Linked DNA regions of Homo sapiens: all the other regions are linked to region 1. The links are contacts of gene promoters, found by promoter capture Hi-C in blood cells and fetal thymus (Javierre and others, 2016). All regions are on one chromosome and are shown on one strand. The core of a region is centred on a gene start or on the middle of the fragment in contact, and the rest is flanking DNA. Distances in the headings are between cores, read along the strand shown.

Evidence for each region. The method cuts DNA at HindIII sites, captures the fragments that hold promoters and counts their contacts. A CHiCAGO score of 5 or more calls a contact.
Region 2: a fragment that was not itself captured here is called in contact with the fragment with the promoter of BMP6 in region 1 in 1 of 17 cell types (endothelial precursors); the score reaches 8.1 in endothelial precursors.
Region 3: a contact is called between a fragment that was not itself captured here and the fragment with the promoter of BMP6 in region 1, in 2 of 17 cell types (endothelial precursors and megakaryocytes). The highest score is 11.2, in endothelial precursors.
Region 4: a contact is called between a fragment that was not itself captured here and the fragment with the promoter of BMP6 in region 1, in 3 of 17 cell types (megakaryocytes, endothelial precursors and naive B cells). The highest score is 7.2, in megakaryocytes.
Region 5: a fragment that was not itself captured here is called in contact with the fragment with the promoter of BMP6 in region 1 in 7 of 17 cell types (endothelial precursors, megakaryocytes, naive B cells and 4 more); the score reaches 10.9 in endothelial precursors.
Region 6: a contact is called between a fragment that was not itself captured here and the fragment with the promoter of BMP6 in region 1, in 5 of 17 cell types (naive B cells, M1 macrophages, endothelial precursors and 2 more). The highest score is 6.0, in naive B cells.
Region 7: a contact is called between a fragment that was not itself captured here and the fragment with the promoter of BMP6 in region 1, in 1 of 17 cell types (endothelial precursors). The highest score is 9.6, in endothelial precursors.

What each region holds. Positions count from the first base shown.
Region 1 is chr6:7,724,662-7,727,361 of GRCh38, forward strand. BMP6 (bone morphogenetic protein 6) reads left to right here and starts at 1,438. Exons shown (of 7, transcript NM_001718.6): 1 at 1,438-2,700. The coding sequence starts at 2,295. The HindIII fragment of the contact is 3,909 bases long and covers 1,163-2,700 here.
Region 2 is chr6:7,855,060-7,857,759 of GRCh38, forward strand. All of the region lies in intron 2 of BMP6 (bone morphogenetic protein 6), which reads left to right. Among named protein-coding and RNA genes, the nearest start is that of TXNDC5, 54 kb to the right of the region's middle. The HindIII fragment of the contact is 2,307 bases long and covers 282-2,588 here.
Region 3 is chr6:7,896,158-7,898,890 of GRCh38, forward strand. All of the region lies in intron 3 of TXNDC5 (thioredoxin domain containing 5), which reads right to left. All of the region lies in intron 6 of BLOC1S5-TXNDC5 (BLOC1S5-TXNDC5 readthrough (NMD candidate)), which reads right to left. Among named protein-coding and RNA genes, the nearest start is that of TXNDC5, 13 kb to the right of the region's middle. The HindIII fragment of the contact is 4,283 bases long and covers 1-2,733 here.
Region 4 is chr6:7,917,163-7,920,025 of GRCh38, forward strand. The region is part of intron 4 of BLOC1S5-TXNDC5 (BLOC1S5-TXNDC5 readthrough (NMD candidate)); the gene reads right to left. Among named protein-coding and RNA genes, the nearest start is that of TXNDC5, 7.8 kb to the left of the region's middle. RefSeq lists an enhancer at 2,398-2,863. The HindIII fragment of the contact is 1,768 bases long and covers 390-2,157 here.
Region 5 is chr6:7,957,722-7,960,603 of GRCh38, forward strand. The region is part of intron 4 of BLOC1S5-TXNDC5 (BLOC1S5-TXNDC5 readthrough (NMD candidate)); the gene reads right to left. Among named protein-coding and RNA genes, the nearest start is that of TXNDC5, 48 kb to the left of the region's middle. The HindIII fragment of the contact is 3,377 bases long and covers 1-2,882 here.
Region 6 is chr6:7,934,728-7,937,676 of GRCh38, forward strand. The region is part of intron 4 of BLOC1S5-TXNDC5 (BLOC1S5-TXNDC5 readthrough (NMD candidate)); the gene reads right to left. Among named protein-coding and RNA genes, the nearest start is that of TXNDC5, 25 kb to the left of the region's middle. The HindIII fragment of the contact is 5,630 bases long and covers 1-2,949 here.
Region 7 is chr6:7,875,671-7,878,370 of GRCh38, forward strand. The region is part of intron 4 of BMP6 (bone morphogenetic protein 6); the gene reads left to right. Among named protein-coding and RNA genes, the nearest start is that of TXNDC5, 34 kb to the right of the region's middle. The HindIII fragment of the contact is 4,534 bases long and covers 1-2,700 here.

The sequences.
Region 1 (2,700 bases), core at 188-2,687:
AGGGTCCGGGCATCCCAGACAAAGTATCGTATTATCTTTTCGGATGGAAGAAATCCCTGTAGAGATGGTTAAAGACTGGCATTCACATAAGTTTTGTGCCCTGAAATTCATAGCTATCAGATATTTGTAGAAATAAAGACTCTTCTAAATGACCACTTGTGTCTGGGCCAAGGCAGAACTAGAAAGAAGGACTCAGTGGGTAGTTGGAGTCAGTGGTGGTCTCTATTTACCCATGAGAAATAGATTCTTGGAAATAGGATAGGAATGCTTATAAGATTTGGACCAACAGAAAGCCTATGATCTCATAAATTCATGAATCCCACAGTCTATAATCTATTTGACTTCACTCTCAAATGCCTAGGACCATTTGGACTAAGGCTGGCAAGTCAGAAAATTGCAGTTTTTATTTTCAACTCCACACAATTTTCACCAAGTAAAAAACCTTCATGTTTTACGTGAATTTGCTTCTACGATCCATAGATGACTGGATGTTCTCGGGCGGGGTAAAGGCAAATGAATTTGTGTCCTCATTGGCAAATGGTGTTGGTGGTGGTGTTATCTTGTCTAAAATCCACAGGAACCTGTGTTTCAGGACCCTGTCTATTGTCCTGACCATTCAGAATGCATGCCAAGCCCCTGCTCTTCCTGGAGTTATCTTTATCACCTCTCCTCAAGTTTTATCTTGCACCATATAAGTCACATTGTATTTCAATATTAAAATGCAACATTAATAGATAAGCTGGAGAATCAAGACATTTCCAAGAAGACAGGGGACGCCTTTTCTAATATATCGTCTGATTACACCCTCTTTCTTTTGGGTGCTAGCTTAAGAAGCCAAACCAAAGCACAAATGAACAGAGAAGTCAACACATCCGACCCCAAACCCTCAGGACGCTGGCTTGGGTTACATGTGGCCCTCTCTGTGGTCAGTTTGTGAGTAGCCTCCCCGGAGGGTGTGTCCCAACTTCCAGCAGCTGCCGTGGAAAGCCACGTGTCCGCTAAACGCCTACATTACATCAATAAGAGAAACTAAGGAAGGGATGGAAAAGCTATCATTTTTCTTTTCTTCCTCAGTTCTGGCAGTATAGTGATTTAATCGCTGTTATTATTTTTATTTAGTTAAAGCATCAACTTAGGCCTTTTAAATGATGGTAAAAGAGAAAGCTTCAGATCGGGGTATTGGTCAGATCATTCTTACTAGCGATGACCTCTTCGCCTTTGGCACCTCGCGGCTCTTCGCATGCCTCCAAGAATTCCCGGGTCTTGAAACCTACGCGCGGCGGAGGCGACGCCTCTCGGGAGAGGGAGGGTGAAAGAAGGGGCGGGGCTATTTAAATAGCCCGCGAGCTTCGCGTCCCCATTGGCTGCCAGCCTGTCGGTTACCGCGGGGCGGGGAGTCCCGGGGCTGGAGTGAGGTACCTGAGCCGGGCGCGCAGCAGAAAGCCCACGTTGGCCGCTGCGGGGAGCGCGGCGTGGAGAGGCGGGAGACCGAATTCCGGCGCCGCCGCCGCGGCCGCTGCTCGGTGCACTAGCCCCCTTCCTTCCCATCCTTTCTGCGAGCGGGTTTGCTGGGCAGCCGGGCGACCGCCGAACGGAAAGCAAGATCCTCGCCGCCTCCGCTTGAGGAGGCGTGCGGCGCGCGGAGATTTTGAGTGGGAGCGACGGTGCCCGAGAGCTCAGGGGCGCGGAGTTCGTGAGCGAGAAGGAAGTTAAACCTCGCGGAATAGACTGGCATTTCGGGACGCCTTGTCGCCGCAGCCTGGGCCCTGCAACGGGGTAAACTTCATGGTGGCCCTGCGATCTGGGGAGGGGCGTGCGCCACGGTGATGCCGGGCATCTCCCGCAGCTCGTGAGCGGCCCCGCTCCCCGCTGCCCCGGGTCCCACTCAGTCGCCAGGGAGAGCGCGGGGCAGCGCACGTGTGCGGCCAGCGAGGCCCAGAGTGACCGCGCCGCGACTCGCAGGAGCCAGGGCGCAGGCTGCAGTGCAGCCCGGACTCAGACGCACCTGGCCTGGACCGCGCGCCTCTAGAGACCTGCGCGAGGCTGTGAGGCTCCCCTTCCTCCCCTCCAAGCGGTTCTCCTGGTGATCGCCCCTTCGCCACCTCTCTAGCCTGGGCAACTGGGGGCGCCCCGGACGACCATGAGAGATAAGGACTGAGGGCCAGGAAGGGGAAGCGAGCCCGCCGAGAGGTGGCGGGGACTGCTCACGCCAAGGGCCACAGCGGCCGCGCTCCGGCCTCGCTCCGCCGCTCCACGCCTCGCGGGATCCGCGGGGGCAGCCCGGCCGGGCGGGGATGCCGGGGCTGGGGCGGAGGGCGCAGTGGCTGTGCTGGTGGTGGGGGCTGCTGTGCAGCTGCTGCGGGCCCCCGCCGCTGCGGCCGCCCTTGCCCGCTGCCGCGGCCGCCGCCGCCGGGGGGCAGCTGCTGGGGGACGGCGGGAGCCCCGGCCGCACGGAGCAGCCGCCGCCGTCGCCGCAGTCCTCCTCGGGCTTCCTGTACCGGCGGCTCAAGACGCAGGAGAAGCGGGAGATGCAGAAGGAGATCTTGTCGGTGCTGGGGCTCCCGCACCGGCCCCGGCCCCTGCACGGCCTCCAACAGCCGCAGCCCCCGGCGCTCCGGCAGCAGGAGGAGCAGCAGCAGCAGCAGCAGCTGCCTCGCGGAGAGCCCCCTCCCGGGCGACTGAAGTCCGCGCCCCTCTTCA
Region 2 (2,700 bases), core at 185-2,684, 130 kb after region 1:
ATTCGATGACACCCTGAGGGTCATGCCCATCCATAAGACACACTGACTTGTGGAGCAGCCTACATTTGGTTTGCACTGTTTTAGGGAGAGGAGCAAGAAATCTTGAGAGCAGATAGCTTTCAACTCTAAGTTCACAAAACAGGCACAGGTAGTCCTGCTCATATTTCATGGAGAGGTAGTCTGGCTTTAGGTCCTTGGCTCACAAAGTATGGTTCTTAGACCAGCAGCATCAGCATCACGTGGGAACCTGTTAGAAATGCAGATTCTCAGGCCCCTCCCCAAGCTTACTGAGTCAGAAGCCCTAGGGGTGAGGGGCAGCAATCCATGTGTTAAGCCCCCGCAGGGGATTCTGATGCAGGCTACACTTGAGAACCACTGATAAAAGAGCACGTACAACACATGAGCCAAACTGCCTGGGTTCAAATTCCAGCTCTGCCCTTGCTGGCTGTGTGACCATGTGCAAGCCACTTAATCTCAATCTCTCTCTCTCTCTCTTTTTTTTTTTTTTTTTTTTTTTTTTTGAGATGAGTTGTGCTCTGTCGCTCAGGCTGGGGTGCAGTGGCACAATCTCAGCTCACTGCAACCTGCACCTCCCAGGCTCAAGAGATCCTCCCACCTCAGCCCATGCCCAGCTAAATTTTTTATTTTTTGTAGAGGCAGGGTTTTGCCATGTTGCCCAGTCTGGTCTCGAACCCCTGGGCTCAAGTGATCTACCTGCCTCAGCCTCCCACGGTGCTGGGATTACAGGTGTGAGCCACCATGCCCTGCCCACTTAATCTCTTTGTGCCTCAGTTTCTTCATCTATAAACCTGTAACAGCATTAATAGTATTTACCTCTTACGGTTGTTGTGAGGCATTAATATATGTGAGAGTACCTAGAACAGTCGCATAGTAAACACCATGTTAAGGTTTGCTATGTTAATATTCTAACAGCAAAGTGATTTATATTGGTTTTTTAAAGACGAAATAGCCCCTACAGAATCAAGGTGCATTTGATATTTGAAACGTCTCTTCATACCATGCTAGCCATTGGGTGAAAATTGAGTAATATCAAAGACTGTAAAAAAAAAAAAAAAAAAAAAAAATGCAAGTGTAGCCAAATAATGTTCATTCATCTTTGTTACTCAAATTTGTATGTGTACATGTATGCAGCAGTTTACTCTTTTTTGTAGTACTTTATTTTCAAATATATGATGCCTTTTCTATCTTTCTAATGGTAAAAGTTTAAACATAATCTATACTGTACTTTACGTAAGGAAAAAGTAAAAAGCATGAGCTTGACTCCTTAATTTTCTAAAATGAAAATGGATTTTTTTTACTTTCATTCTATTTGAAAAATGAATTTTTCTTATTGCAGAAAGTCAGTTCCTCCATGTATGAATGTTGTTTTGTATTTTAATGTAACATCAAGTCCAGACGTACAAATGCAAAGGAATGTGTTATGGAGAAATAAAGAACAAGACCACAGAATCACCTTACTGAGTATTTCATAAATCTGCTTACTTTGAATATATAAATGCCAGTTTATCAAGAGCATTTTTTTTTTTTTTTTTTTGAGACGGAGTCTCGCTCTGTCGCCCAGGCTGGAGTGCAGTGGCGGGATCTCGGCTCACTGCAAGCTCCGCCTCCCGGGTTCACGCCATTCTCCTGCCTCAGCCTCCCAAGTAGCTGGGACTACAGGCGCCCGCCACTACGCCCGGCTAATTTTTTGTATTTTTAGTAGAGATGGGGTTTCACCGTTTTAGCCGGGATGGTCTCGATCTCCTGACCTCGTGATCCGCCCGCCTCGGCCTCCCAAAGTGCTGGGATTACAGGCGTGAGCCACCGCGCCCGGCCTCAAGAGCATTTTTCTATCAAAATGGTTAGTAGTAAACACTGTTGTACTTTGACCCCGGCATTGTGACCTTGATGGGTGTGTGGTTTGTCAGGAAAGGGTCGAAGCCTGTCCACCAGGAGCTCAGGCACCTCCTGCCCTTGTCCGAGGGCAAAGGAGAGAAAGGCCTGCTGTATTTTGGCAATGGTGCTCTCTGTCAGCCCAGTGGTGTATCACTGATGTGAGCATGTGCCTTGGAGGCTGTGTGATGGGAGGGATATGCAGGGATAAATCTTGCCCACAAACACCAATTCTACTAGTCTTTATGAGTGGCTTTCTGATTCATCAACTCTAAAGCCAGGGTGAATTTTTGAAATTTTCCAGAAATATCTTACTAGCATATTAATTTGTTAAGAACCTCATTTGCCCAGGATGACCACAATGTGAGGAATATCACGCTCTGAGGTTGGAATAACATTGAGAAGAGTAACACTGTTACATCCTTGAAGATTGGAAGCGTATTCATCATGCAAATGTAGGGTCTGAGTTAGTTGAGAACAAAATAGTCAATAACTGCATTAAAAATTATCTTCCCTTGTTTCAAGATTTTCTTTCGTGGTTTGCCACCTTGAGAGTATGTCACCTCAATAGGAAGGTCCAAGTAATCTAGGCATGGTGATGATTTTGGCCAGTCTCTAGGATTCTTTATCAGTGACACACATTTTAGGTGAGAACATCTCTTCTGAACTCTGCCAAAGTGAGATTTAGAAGGGAAAGCTTATTTTTCACGTGGCAAAATCAGATGCATCTTCTTCGAGGCTACACTTTTACAGTCCGCAGACTAGGAAGGCCATGTATCCCTGAGGAAACATTAGTACATGTGGGTC
Region 3 (2,733 bases), core at 124-2,623, 170 kb after region 1:
GAAGGAAAATGCAGGTGAATGAAAGGCAACAGAGAGAAAACCATGGCATGAACATAAGCTGCACCTTCAAGAAAGAATGTAATTCATATGACTAAGTCTCATACAGAAAGAGGGGGAAAGGGGCTTTTCAAAAGATGCTTCTGCCAGGACCCAAGCAGACAGCAATGTGTGCAGCTGTCTAGTCACAATCCTACATTTCTCAACTTTTCAGACCAGGTACAGCTGTGGCTTCCAACCAAAGTAACCAGAAATGAGGGAAAGATAATGGAATCAGTGTTCTGCTGCAGACACATTAAGTGTATATTACTCAGCTTTTATCTGGGGGTTCATATTCCTATTAAAAAGAATATCCAAGCTAAGTTGTTAAAGGCTTTAAAGGTGCTGACAGTTCAAAGCTGTGCAGGGCTGGAATCATAAAGAACCACAAAGTTTCCCTTCTGCTGCCAGCGCGTCAAGACTTTCAAAGTGCTAAATACCCACACAAAACAATGCCCAAGGGAAGAATGGCTAAGTGAACAGTCAATGGGTGCACATAAGGTGAAATAAAATACCGTGTGCCACTCTCCATGAGATGTTCAAGGGCCTTTCAGTATGAAGTGTTCATTTATGGCACATGCGGGGCCTCTAGTTGCTTCCTGGGTTCCTGGCAGACTCCAGAGCAGTCCCCCGGCATGGGAACACCACAGTGCATCCCAGAAACAGGTCACGTCTTGCCCTACAGTGGCAGCATAAGCTGATATGGTGCTTAAGAAACCTGGCTATATTCATCAAGAGCCATAAAAATGATCTTTTTTTTTATTCTTGGCCTTATAATTTTATGTCTGGGAATACTATATTCTAAAAATATCACTCAAAAGAAGGGGGGGTGGAAAGTCCTTTACAAAGATAAACTTGTTCCCTACATCATTACTGATGATGGAAAAGGTATAAATAACCTAAATATCCACTGACAGAATTAGAGTTGAATTATGGCAAATCCACATGATAAAATAATATAAGACATGATCAACATAAAGACCACATAAATATATAAAATCATTAATGAGATGAAACATGTTTGTATAACTGTTCAAGAAAAAATACAGAAGCAAACATGGAAATACAAAAATTGCAGTAGAATGTACAAAGTGACAAATTGTCTTTTGAGTTTCTTGAATATTGCCACAACACTTAAAAAAATCTAAATTTATCCCACGTGAATATTAAAAAATGTATGTACTAAGTTACTTAGGTATACAGATAAAGAACTTTTTTTAAAGTTTTCACTTAAAAAGCTAAGAGAATTCTGGTTTGCAGTATAAAGTGTATATACTTAAACTTTTCCACAATAAGGCGCATTGTCATTGTTTCTGGCAATTATCTGGGGCCTGCTATTGCTGGAGACACTAAAATATGGCAAGTTGGTGACTGTGGTTCTGGGGTGGCATGGGGGGATTACACGCGGCCATCCTGCTCCCACACTGAGGAGACAGAAAGTCCCTTGCAGAGCCTGGACGCAGCCTCTCAGCCCTTTCCAACCTGCAGGTGAGGCCGCCACCTCCACTAAGGGAAATGGGCCATGAGATGAGGTCTTTCTGCCGTCCTGATACTGGCTGCTGGTTTCTTGAATAAAGCCATCATAGAAGACTGGCTTTTTTGGTGAAATTTATTTGAGGCTATTAACTCCTCCTTAAAATTGGTTTGCTACCATCCAATATATGTGTCCCCACAAAGAGAATATTTTCACAAAGGAAACAATGTCCAATTGAAAACTATGAAAGTCACACCTGCTCATTCAGCTTTCTTGCCAGGACAAAGATGCAAATTTCCTGAGAGGTCTGTGGTTCTTTTAGCTAAAGTTAGGTAAGTCTCTGGTTCAACGACATAACATCACACACCAACAGTCTCCACCATACAGTTCAGAGAGTTTTTTTTTTTTTTCCACGATAGTTTTTGCTCTGTTGCATAGGCTGGAGTGCAGTGGCATGATCTCGCCTCACTGCAACCTCTGCCTCCTGGGTTCAAGTGATTCTCCTGCCTCAGCCTCCCAAGTAGCTGGGATTACAGGCACCTACCACCTGGCTAATTTTTGTATTTTTAGCAGAGACGACGTTTCACCATGTTGGCCAGGCTGGTCTTGAACTCTTGACCTTGGGTGATCCACCCGCCTCAGCCTCCCAAAGTGCTAGGATTACAGGCATGAGCCACCACACCCAGCCGAGTTGAGAGAGTCTTTGCAGGTGAGGGATGGAAGCACTGAATCAGCAGCCAAGTTTCTGATTAGGTCATCAGAGAAGATGGGGCAGAGCGGAAGAGCCGCACAGACACACTGGAAACTGGCAACAGTAAGCGGCAAAGCTCCAAAAGGACCACCACAGACCACCTTCAAATCAGTGGGCGCTTAGCTGATACAAGAAGGTAGTCTTAGGTATTTGTTGAAATTGAAATTACAAAGACTTCAGATGCTCTTCCTAGCTCATCAGGATCCTACAGTGTAGGAACACGAGTGTTTTTCCAGTCCCTCTCCAACACAGCAGCATGACCCACCAGGTCTACCCGGCATCCAGGGACCTGAGCACTCGGCATTAATCAGAAGGCACCACCCACAAAGGAACACTTAACCAGTGGTTTATGATCATGATGATTTATAAAAAAGTGAAGACTTCCAACATCAACTGGGGAGGGGGAGGATTATAAATCCTTTTTAGTACATAATATTCTAAGAGTCTACAATCTCCTGATATTAGCCTTAGT
Region 4 (2,863 bases), core at 24-2,523, 190 kb after region 1:
TGCTTTTAGGAGGTACTGAAAGCATTTACATCCTGTTGTTCTAATTTGGTCAGAACACCTTGGTAGGTGCCTCTAAAGAAGAAGAAAAACTGTGTTTTTCTTGATGAGCTCATGTGACCATTCAAATGTGATTGTTGAGAGGTGGAGAAAAAGCTAGAGGATTGCTCTCATCAGAGAAAATCTAAAGAAAAAGACCAAAGTGAATTCCCAGGCTGGAGTCACACAGGGAGTAGAGCTGTTTTCAGTGTATTGAAATGGTTAATGGAAAGGTCATATTTACTCACTACTCTCACAAGCTCCTTGGGCAACACAGCCTACTAAACAATTAATAAGCACCAAAAACCCACATTACATTATAACATAACAGATTCGGGTATTTGGCAGATAAAAGCTTTCAAAATCCATGTGGGATCTGTGAGGTCTCGGGGGTAGGGGGGAGGAGAATAAAGAGAGTTTCTTTGTTGACTGGATCATGACCACTAAGCTGAATGATCTGTGCTGTTTCTCAAAGTGCACAGAACACTCACTCCAGCTCCCAGGAGCTCATTCAGTCTGTGCAAGTGCTGGCTCTTCTCGTTCATGCCCCTGTCATTCTCCCAGCTCTTTGTCTGCTAGATGCTATTACAGGAGTTCTTATTTTTCCCAGAGTCCCCAGGTGCGGGGCCGATAGGCTGATCCAGAAGCTGATGCTCACCAGCACCTGGACTTCATAACAGGAGAGAAGACTTCTCCCTGATGCAGGTTGCTCACTGAGTTGTTCCACTCCTCTCTCAGCTGCGCTGGCCTGCAGTGATGGCCTTGGCCTTGGATCTGTGGCATTCCACACGGGCATGGGGACATGCCTCTCACAGCACTTAGGGGCCAGCTCTTCATAGCTGCCTGAATTTCAGAACACTATTCCAAGTTCAGAATCCAGGAAAATGTTTATCCTACCTGGGGGTTCTCAATTCTGGCTGCACATTGCAATCATCTAGGTCTTGAAAGCAATACTGATGGCTTTGTCCTACTTCCTAGGGTTGAGAATTCCTGGGATTAGAGGAGACACAGCCAGGATCTCAGTCCCTGGTGCGCCTGTGGCGGACTGTAGCAGGGCTCTGAGAGCACAGATGTGGAGCAGACCACCAAAGGAACGCTGATGTTTGCTGGAAGTTAATAGGTGTTTTCTTAAGAGAAGAGCTCTGACTGAGACATGTTTGAGGAACACTTGGTTAGGGTTAGGGTTAGGAGATAGAGAAGCCAGGAACAATGCCCAAATTAGACCACAATACTGCTCAAATTAGATCACAATACTGCTCAAATTAGATCACAATACTGCCACCACTGCTACCACCTCGACATGCAGATTCCTCCTATCCCACCTCTGGTACAGGACACTATATGTGACCATGGGAACCTCTGCAACCGCTGCCCTGCAGGATGGACTTTGCATGACCCCTGCTTCTTCGCAAAACTAGCTTCCAATGGAAGCCTCACTGCAGTAGGGCTCAATGGTCTATGCTCTATCCTAACTTGTGGCGGTTAGGTCAGAGGCTCCACAAATGCAGGAAAGGTGTCCAGTGAAGCTGGGCAGCCTGAAAGAATGTCAACTGTTGATACATTGAGTCCTTTTTTTTTTTTTTTTTTGGAGACAGAATTTCACTCTATTTCTCAGGCTGGAGTGCAGTGGTGCAACCTTGACTCACTGCAACTTCTGTCTCCTGGATGCAAGCGATTCTCATGCCTCAGCCATTGAAATAGCTGGGATTACAGGCGCCCACCACCACACCAAGCTAATTTTTGTATTTTTAGTAGAGACAGGATTTCACCATGTTGGCCAGGCTGGCCTCAAACTCTTGGCCTCAGGTGATCTGCACACCTCAGCCTCCCAAAGTGCTGAGATTACAGGCATGAGCCACCACACCTGGCCAACACACTGTGCCTTGAAGACTACTTAAGAATTGGCTGGATGAAGTGCTAATGGAAGAAGAAAGAAAAAGATAGAAACCTATTTCCTAAATGATTTATCAGAGATTTTTATTTGCGATTGCACCATCTGAATTCCTAAAAGTATCCTATGCAGTATTTCCCAACTTATTTGATTGTGGACTCCTTTTTATTTGTGGTGTCTCTTGTGTTGTTAATCCTCTGCAGAACACTCTGTGAAGTATTATATATAGAAGCTTGGGTCGTATTTCACATGGAAGGATCAATGTCTGGTTTCCTTTGCTTATTATAGCTGCAACATCTCCTCTTCCATTGTGTGCATTTAATTGCAAGAGAATTCACTCAACAAATATTTATTGGATCTAGTCTGTGTCAGGCACGTTTTTAGGTGCTGAGGATCAGCAACAACTGAAATAGACAAAAACCCTAGTCCTAATGAACTTCCATTGTAGGTGGGGAAACAGCCAATACGTAAGATATAGAAGATAAACACTATGTTAGCCAGTGGTAGAAGCCCAGAAGAAAACAAGGCAAGGAAGGGGGTATGAAGTGTCAAGGTTCAGATGGGATGTCAGGGTTTGGATAGGCTTATTGGGGACATGGCTTTCAAGTAAAGACGTGAGGGAGTAACACATGTGAATATCTGGTTCCAGCCGAGGGATCAGCAACTGCAAAGGACTTAGAGCGAATGAATAAGAAGGCAGTACAGAATGAGAACACTGGCTTTTACGAATGAGAAGGGAAGTCATCGGAGGGTTTTCAGAAGAAACACGACAGGATCTGGCTTCCAATTATTTCTACAGCATGGCTCTGAGAGCTGTAGCGAGGAATGCGAAGGGGGCAAGGATAGAAGGGAGGCGACCACTCCGGGAGCAATTACAACCATCCCAGCACAAGATACTGGTGACTCACGCTAAGGCGGAGGTGGGAGGGTGATGAG
Region 5 (2,882 bases), core at 35-2,534, 230 kb after region 1:
GGATAAACTTGGAGGATGATATACCAAGTGAAATAAGCCAGACACAGAAAGACAAATATTGCAAGATATCACTTTTATGTGGAATCTAAAAAAAGTCAAACTTAAGAAAACAGAGAAAGGTCATTTCCAGGGGCTGGGGGAGGGCGGAGTAAATGGGGAGAGGTTGACGGAAGGGTATGAACTTCCAGTTAATGAGTAAGTCCTAGAGCTCTAGTGTGCAGCATGGTGACTACACTCAATAATACTGCACTGTGTACTTGAAATTCACTAAGAGACTGACCTAAAGTGTTCTCACCACACATACAGAGAATAACTATCTCAGGTGATGGGTATGTTAATTAGCTTGTTTGTGGCAATTATTACATAAGATATACTTACATCAAAACACCATGTTTTACACTTTAATTTTCTTTTCTTTTTTTTTTTTTTTTTTTTTGAGACGGAGTCTCACTCTGTTGCCCAGGCTGGAGTGCACTGGCACAAGCTCAGCTCACTGTAACCTCTGCCTCCTGGGTTCAAGCGATTCTCCAGCCTGGGCCTCCTGAGTAGCTGGGATTACAGGTGTGCACCACCATGCCCAGCTAATTTTTGTATTTTTAGTAAAGATGGGGTTTCACCATGTTGACCAGGCTGGTCTCGAACTCCTGACCTTGTGATCTGCCCGCCTCGGCCTCCCAAAGTGCTAGGATTACAGGCGTGAGCCACCCCATCTGGCCAATTTTCTATTTTTCAATCATATCTTAATAAGCCTGGGGGGGAAAGGATAGTATTTAGAAAGTGGCTTCTATGGGCTGTTTACCACTGTCTCCTTCTATGGAACCAAGAATATAATTGTATAATAGAAGTTTAAATGCTTTGGCTTTGGGTGAATTGGCCAAAGGTAATGCTTGTGACCACAGGTTAGAGTGTTTCCTCTAAACCACGAGAACTGACCTGAAAGGAAACAGACAGGGAATCCTTAGTCTGTAACCAACTGAACCAGCCAAGCAAGCTCACCAGTGCCTGTCAGCCTCAGTGGCTGAGAACTACTATGTGTCAGGTCATTGAGATAACCTGCAACTTGCCCACAATAGAAGGATGGGGCCACTTTTTACTCTCCTTTTTATTTTATTTTTTAAAGTTTTTTTTTTTTTTGAGATGGAGTTTCGCTCTGTCACCCAGGCTGGAGTGCAATGGTGCGATCTCAGCTCACTGCAACCTCCGCCCCCCAGGTTCAAGCGATTCTCCTGCCTCAGCCTCCCGAGTAGCCGGGATTACAGGCGTCGGCCACCATGCCCGGCTAATTTTTGTATTTTTAGTAGAGATGGGGTTTCGCCACATTGGCCAGGCTGGTCTCCAACTCCTGACCTTAGGTGATCCACCTGCCTCAGCCTCCCAAAGTGCTAGGATTACAGGCATAAGCCACCGTGCTCGGCCTCTGCTTTTTAAATGACAATGGTTTTGGGGACCGTATGTTCCTTGAGTGAAACATTCCTTATAAGCAGCCTACACCATTCACCGCCACGTAGTTGTGGATTTTAGCATCCTTCCATGTGCACAGGCTTCTCCTGCCTTCAGGAGTTCACATCTGAGTGGAATCTACCCCGGTAGGTCCCCGGAAAGGTTCAAAAGCTCCTCTCAGAGCAGGAAGTTATCAACTCCGTAATTTCCCAGGCTAATTTTACAGACTAGTCTTAGGAAGCGCTTGATGTTGACAGCGACCATGTGGCTTTCTTACTGAAAACCCAAGTGCCCAGTAAATAAGCTCAACTACAAAGTAAAGAAGAAACGTGGTGCTCAATTCCAATGATTCAAAAGTTTAACCATTGCTTTTAGGAGTTAATCACTCAATGACATATTTCCTTTCCTAAATAAACATTGACTTTTTGACATCTGGTGTTGGATCTCTTATGTATATGGGTATGGCTCAGTTCCTGGAGAGAGTAGAGATAGTGACACAGAATGGGCCATCAGGCCACACCTCAGTGTACTTGCCACTAGGACGTTAATAAGGGATGCACAGTAGTGTCACAGATTCCAGCCCTGCAAGTAGGGCCACGAGAGGAAAAGTGGTTGCTCTTTGTTTCATCGTCAATATTCAATATAAGAAAAATGAGCTGGGCATGGTGGCTTATGCCTGTAATCCCAGCACTTAGGGAGGCCGAGGTGGGTGGAGTTTGAGACCAGCCTGGCCAACATGGCGCAACTCTGTCTCCACTAAAAATACAAAAATTAGCTGGGCATGGTGGCAGATGCCTGTAATCCCAGCTACTCAGGAGACTGAGGCAGGAGAATCACCTGAGCCTGGGAGGCGGAGGATGCAGTGAGCCGAGATCGCACCACTGCACTCCAGCCTAAGTGACTGACAGAGACAGACATTGTCTCAAAAAAAAAAAAAAAAAAGATAAATGGTTCTTAAACATGAGAATGGCAGGGGAAGTTGGAAAGTTTTGTTGTAGTGAATACAGATTTGATTTGGTTACTCCACGAGAGTCATTTTAGCACCAAGTATATTAAATGATGACATGAAGAAGAGCTTCATATGCTGAAGAGACAACTGACAACCCGAACTTCCACAGGTTCTCACCTTCTGTGGCTTATTATAGCTCATTTTCCTTTCAGATCTTACAATCTCCCACTTTAGGAACTGAAATTCTTCGGAATTTCCTGTGATTATGTTTTCTAGTGTTACGGGAAGGAAAGTTATCTTTAGGGTTAGACAACATGTAAAGTTGAATACTGAATTCAACAGAGATCTTAAAATACAAGTCCAGGAATGAAAGGGATTAAGAATGTACACTGTGTATAGTTAATGTAGACTATAACTAGGTTCATAAAACAATTGTAAAAATTGTCTTTGAAGAGAAAGTTTATTAACTTCATTTTAATATTCACAATACAGA
Region 6 (2,949 bases), core at 244-2,743, 210 kb after region 1:
TCTGGACCTCTGAGTTCCTGCATTGACCCCCAAAACAGGGATCCTGGCAGTCCACATACCTAGACTCCCTTCACCTGGAGCTTTCCAGGTATCTTAGTTCATTCGGGCTGCTGTAACAATACCACCAGACTGGGTGGCTTAGAAACAACAGAAAGTTATTGCTCACAGTTTTGGAGGCTGGGAAGTCCAAGGTCAAGGTGCTGGTAGATTCAGTTTCTAGGGAGGTCTTCTTGCTGTTTCACAGATGGTGCCTTCTTACTGTGTCCTCACATAGTGAAAAGGGGAAGGCAGCTCTCTGGCCTCTATTATAAGGGCACTAATCCCATTCACAAGCACTCCACCCTCATGATCTCACCACCTCCCAAAGACTCACCTCCTAATACCAGCACACTGGTGATTAGGTTTCAACATATGAATTTGGTAGGGACACAAACATTCAGACCATAGCCCCAGGTGAGTTTCGCAGCCCACTCTTTCCTCCAGAACTCTGCCCTCCAAGCCTAGAGATTCACAGGGAACAGAACTTTGCCCATCACTTCCCGGGAGGCTGTGTCATCCCTCAAGGTGGGACTTCTTTCTGCCGTTTTAATGATTTTCTTCCTTAGATTTCTGTATAAGTAGAGGCTTTTGCTAAATTTACTTTTCTTAGGTTATTTATGTAGAATTGGTTGTGGAATTAGTGTTTAGAAATAAATTGTGTCCCCAACCCAAACATCTTTACCTGAGAGACCAGAACATCTTTTTCAAATGAAAGAGCAGGCCGGGCATGGTGGCTCATGCCTGTAATCCCAGCACTTTGGGAGGCCAAGGCAGGTGGATTGCCTGAGGTCAGGAGTTCAAGACCAGTCTGGCCAACACAGTGAAACCCCATCTCTACTAAAAATACAAAAAAATTAGACAGGCGTGGTGGCATGCACCTGTAATCCCAGCTACTCGGGAGGCTGGGGCAGGGGAATTGCTTGAGCCAGGGGGGTGGAGGTTGCAGTGAGCCAAGATTGTGCCACTGCACTCCAGCCTGGGTGACACAATGAGACTCTGTCTCAAAATGAAAAAGTAAAAAAGCATAATTATCTTAGGTGTGGTGATTACAACGGTTTTTTTTCCCTTCCTTTTCTCTTAAACTATATGAACCTTCCAAATTGCACATTCTAAACCTGAAAATTTAGAATTTTTATTATTTTTGCATTGTAGAGTATATGGACTGTAAACTGGACACTGCCTTCACAATTAATCTATTTGTAAATTTATTTGCTTTAAATTAAGAAGTTTGAGCAAACTTTAATACCTTCACTAACCAGTGAAAGACTCCACAGTCCCTATTGTATTTTATTTAATAAATAGCTGATTTAGAAATATCCTACCACTTATTATATGTACACTAATTCAGAGTAAATTAACACCTGTCTCTGAAAAAAGGCAACTTCTCAGTGCTTGACATTCAAATGTCTAAAGATGCATCAGTTTATTCCTTTTTACTTCCGAAGGATACTGCATCACTCAACACATCTATTTCACTTAATGCACATATCCAAACTTTCTTTGTTTGAGTCAAAATTTCTGGTACCAAAGACAATAAAATTAATTTCAAAGTTACTTATAAACAGAATCTCTTATGAAAAACTTACAAAAATATTTTTAAAAATTTAACAAGTATATTTTCTCTTCTTCTCTCTTTGCTGTTTAGTGAAGTTATAACTCCATAGAAATAAAAATCTTTTTTTAGAGAATTTTAGTCCATATTTCTTTTTTTCTTTTTCTTTCTTTCTTTCTTTCTTTTTTTTTTTTTTTGAGACAGAGTTTCTCTCTTGTTGCCCAGGCTAGAGTACAATGGTGCAGTCTCGGCTCACTGCAACCTCTGCCTCCTGGGTTCAAGTGATTCTCCTGCCTTAGCCTCCCAAATAGCTGGTATTCCAGGTGCCCACCACCACGCCCAACTAATTTTTGTATTTTTAGTAGAGACAGATTTCCATCAGCTGGCCAGGCTGGTCTCAAACTCCTGACCTCAGATGATCCGCCACTGGTCTCCTGAAGTCCTAGGATTACAGGTATGAGCCACCGCACCCAGCCTTTATTCCATATTTCATCTCCTGTGGCTATGTCTTTGTTATCTTCTTTATCTTCTCTTTTTAATCCATATGTGTAAACATAAAAGGTTAAGAAACTTTAACAACTGATTGCATTCAGGTAACAAAATCAATGTAATATCCTAAGTCTTCAGACTTACTAATAATGGGAGAACTGTGAAGCCAAGTTCATAAAAAATCAGGTCTTGGATACCTAGTATTTACTCAGTTGTGCCTCCTTGCTCAGTGTTTAAACACAGAAGAATCTACAGCCTCACACACCTAGGTCAGACATAATATAAAATATACCACATGCATTTAATGATGGACAAACCTCAGTGATGTAAGTATAATTTTTCTGCTCAATTAAAAAAACTCTCTGCAATTTTTCATAAACATAAATGTGATTTTTGTTGCTCCAGCCAAACCCTGACACCCACAGCAGCAACCTCCCTTTTGTATCAAAGGAAGAGTCGTGGGGTTCTGAGGTGTGTTGTGTTGCTATGTTCAGCCGAGCAGCTCCAGGGACCCCACCAGAAAGAGCTACTCGTCGGCAGTGGTAGCAGCTACCACTGCTCACATCTGTGTCACTGAGGCTGGAGTCTGGAATTTCTGAGTTACAGGGCTGTCTCTGCCAAAGACTTGCTGGCAAAGTTTTTTGTCTGCAAAATAGACACAATAATGAGGACCTCATAAGGACTTTAAGAAGTGCCCTACACCCTGGAAACTTCTGTTGGCAGAAGTGAAGGGAGAAATTAACTCTTCCCCTAGGAAAAAAAATTTTCCATAGCAGTTCTAAACTTTGTCCCTTGTGTAGGACGATAAGCAGTTTTTAAATGCAAATAAGGCTAGTGATGGAATTTTACAGTCGAGCTCTAAAGACAAA
Region 7 (2,700 bases), core at 137-2,636, 150 kb after region 1:
AAAAAAAGTTTTATCAGCTACTTGGGCATTCCATAGTCCAATCAAGTTGACACAAAATTAACTATCACAGTGCTCTAGATTGCATGCAGTAGAAGCAGACTGTAATGAGAGAGAAAAGCGTACCAGGGAACTTACCCAATCAACAAAAAGGCTGGAGACTTAATTCAGGAAATCAAGGCTCAGATCTAGTCATGGAACAATGTGCTTTGGATCCCTCCAATGTGGTCATCACCCTAGACACTGGCTGCCGTACTACCCATTCTTGATGTCACCTTTGAGTCACTCCCTCAGGTTATACACTGCAGGGTGGAGACATTTGATTGGCTTTGATGAAGTCATGAGTCCGTACTTCAGATGCTAGGGGACAAAGAGGGGAGCTATCTGTCGTGGGAAATGGGGCTCTGAGTCCCACCTATCTAGGCATTCCCCCACATGCGAAGTGTTGCCAAAAGCTGGGTAGCAAAAGCAGTAAATATCCACTACAGCTGGGTATGGCATTCTAGGTTTGATGGCATCATTTTCATATTATTTAATTTTTTAATGTGTATTTTTGTTAAGTTTGCTATCCATTTTGTGTTTCTTAGTAATTTTCTTTTTATCTCTGGATTACTTTTAAGAATTTATGTGTTTGATATAATTTCACTACATGTGGCTAGATAAGAATTTATCTGATCCTCTTGGAACTCTTTGGGCCTTTTCAACTTAAAGATGTTTGCCTTTCTTTAGTTGTAGAAAATTCCCAGTCATTATGTCTTCAAATACTACTACTCCCTATTACTGCCTTCCGAAATTCCTATTAGAAATTTGTTGGACTTTTCATTCTCTCTTCCATGTCTCTTTACAAAGAGACAGTCATGTATTTTGGCCATTTGATTCTGTGCTATATTTGAAGAGATTTCAAATATACTGTTGAATTCTTTAATTCTGTCTTCAGTTATGTGTAATTTGATGATTATCTGTTTAATGTATAACTAATCTGTTAAGTAATCTGTTTAATCTGTTAATTAGACAACTAATGTTTAACCTGTTTAATCTGATCTTTAGTTATATCTAATCTGATTTCATTGTTATTTTCAATGGTTATGGTTTTTATAAAGTTCTATTTGACTCTTTTTACATCTACCTGTTCTTTTTTCATGTTTTTTCCCCATAATTTTGTTTTAAGGTTTCTAGTCCTTCTTTTCTTCCTTCCATTATTTTAGGTATTCTTCCTTTTTTTTCCTCTAGTTTTTGTTTTTAGTTTTGTTATTGTTTTGTTTTGTTTTGGTATTCTTCCTTTAGAGCTTAGTTCAGATGACTCTTATCCACAGTCTCTGGGGTCCTCTGGGTCTTCCCTTGCATTCCAGCCATCCTCTTGAGAGACTTTGTGTGGCTGATTCATTTTTGTTCAGGGGTTCTTTTCAGTAGGAAGTTTCTGTCTTATGGTGATAGTTGGTTGATTGTTTTTACTGAGAGAGTCCTTGTCCTGCATTGTGAAAATTTCCCTCCAGGGCTTCTCTGGGGTCCTTAAAGTTAAAGGCAGGGTGGTTCTGTTGGGTAACATAGGCAGGTGGAGAGGATAAATAAATTTAGAATTATAAACCACCTAAAAAAGTTGCCCCATCTCTTCTCCCAGTATAGGCCACTGGCCTGAGTCACTGTCTCTTTTCCTTAAAAAATCATGAAATCTGGTGGGGCATGGTGGCTCACACCTGTAATCTCAGCACTCTGGGAGGCTGAGATGGGCAGATCACTTAAGGTCAGTAGTTCGAGACCAGCCTGGCCAATGTGTTGAAACCCCATCTCTACTAAAAATACAAAAAATTAGCTGGGCATGGTGGCTCGCGCCTGTAGTCCCAGCTACTCGGGAGACTGAGGCAGGAGAATCGCTTGAACCCAGGAGGCAGAGGTTGCAGTGAGCCGAGCTCGTGCCATTGCACTTCAGTCTGGGTAACAGAGCAAGACTCTGTCTCAAAAGAAAAAAAAAAAAATTAATGAAATCTGCACGCTCTCTCCTGCTTCAGAGCCAGGAAGACTGGGAGTTAGAAGTTAGAAAATCAAGTTCAAACAGGCTTTCAACAATTAGGTGACTTACTGGCTTATGTAGTTGAAAAGGGAAGGGATAGCCTGCAAATGACCTAGGCTCTTACACCCACTGACATCCCACATTAGATGACCTTTCTCTAAAGCCTTCTCCTTGCCTTTTCTCTCTCCGTCGTTTCTCGAACTCTCCAACACAACTCCAGATGGATTAATCCTTTCGAATCACAGCGGGAAATGCTGCTCTGCAGCTCAGAACCCTGCAAAGGCTCACTTTGTGCCTCTGGTGGGAAGTCCGAAGCATTGTGGTTGGCAGCCTAGGCCATTCATTTCTCCAGCTTTATCTCATCCGACCCTGCTTGACACATCCTTAAATCCATTCCAGCAGAACTCCTCTCTCTTCCTCTCACTCCCACTCTGAACTGTCCCTTCTCTGAAGGGACATTTGCCTATGGCCCTTGCCTGTGTGATATTTGCCTATGGCCTTTGCCCGTAGCATCCATGTTCTGGTTTGTATTGGAGTTATTTGTGTGTCTGTTTTACACCACCCCTTCATTCACTGAGTTCTTGGAGGGAGGAAAGCCATGTCTGACTTACCGTCTATTGGCCGTGGTGCCAGGCAGAAGGCATGTCACGTAAGAGTCGCTCCAGTGGGCCTCAGTGAATTGGGGCACCCCCAGT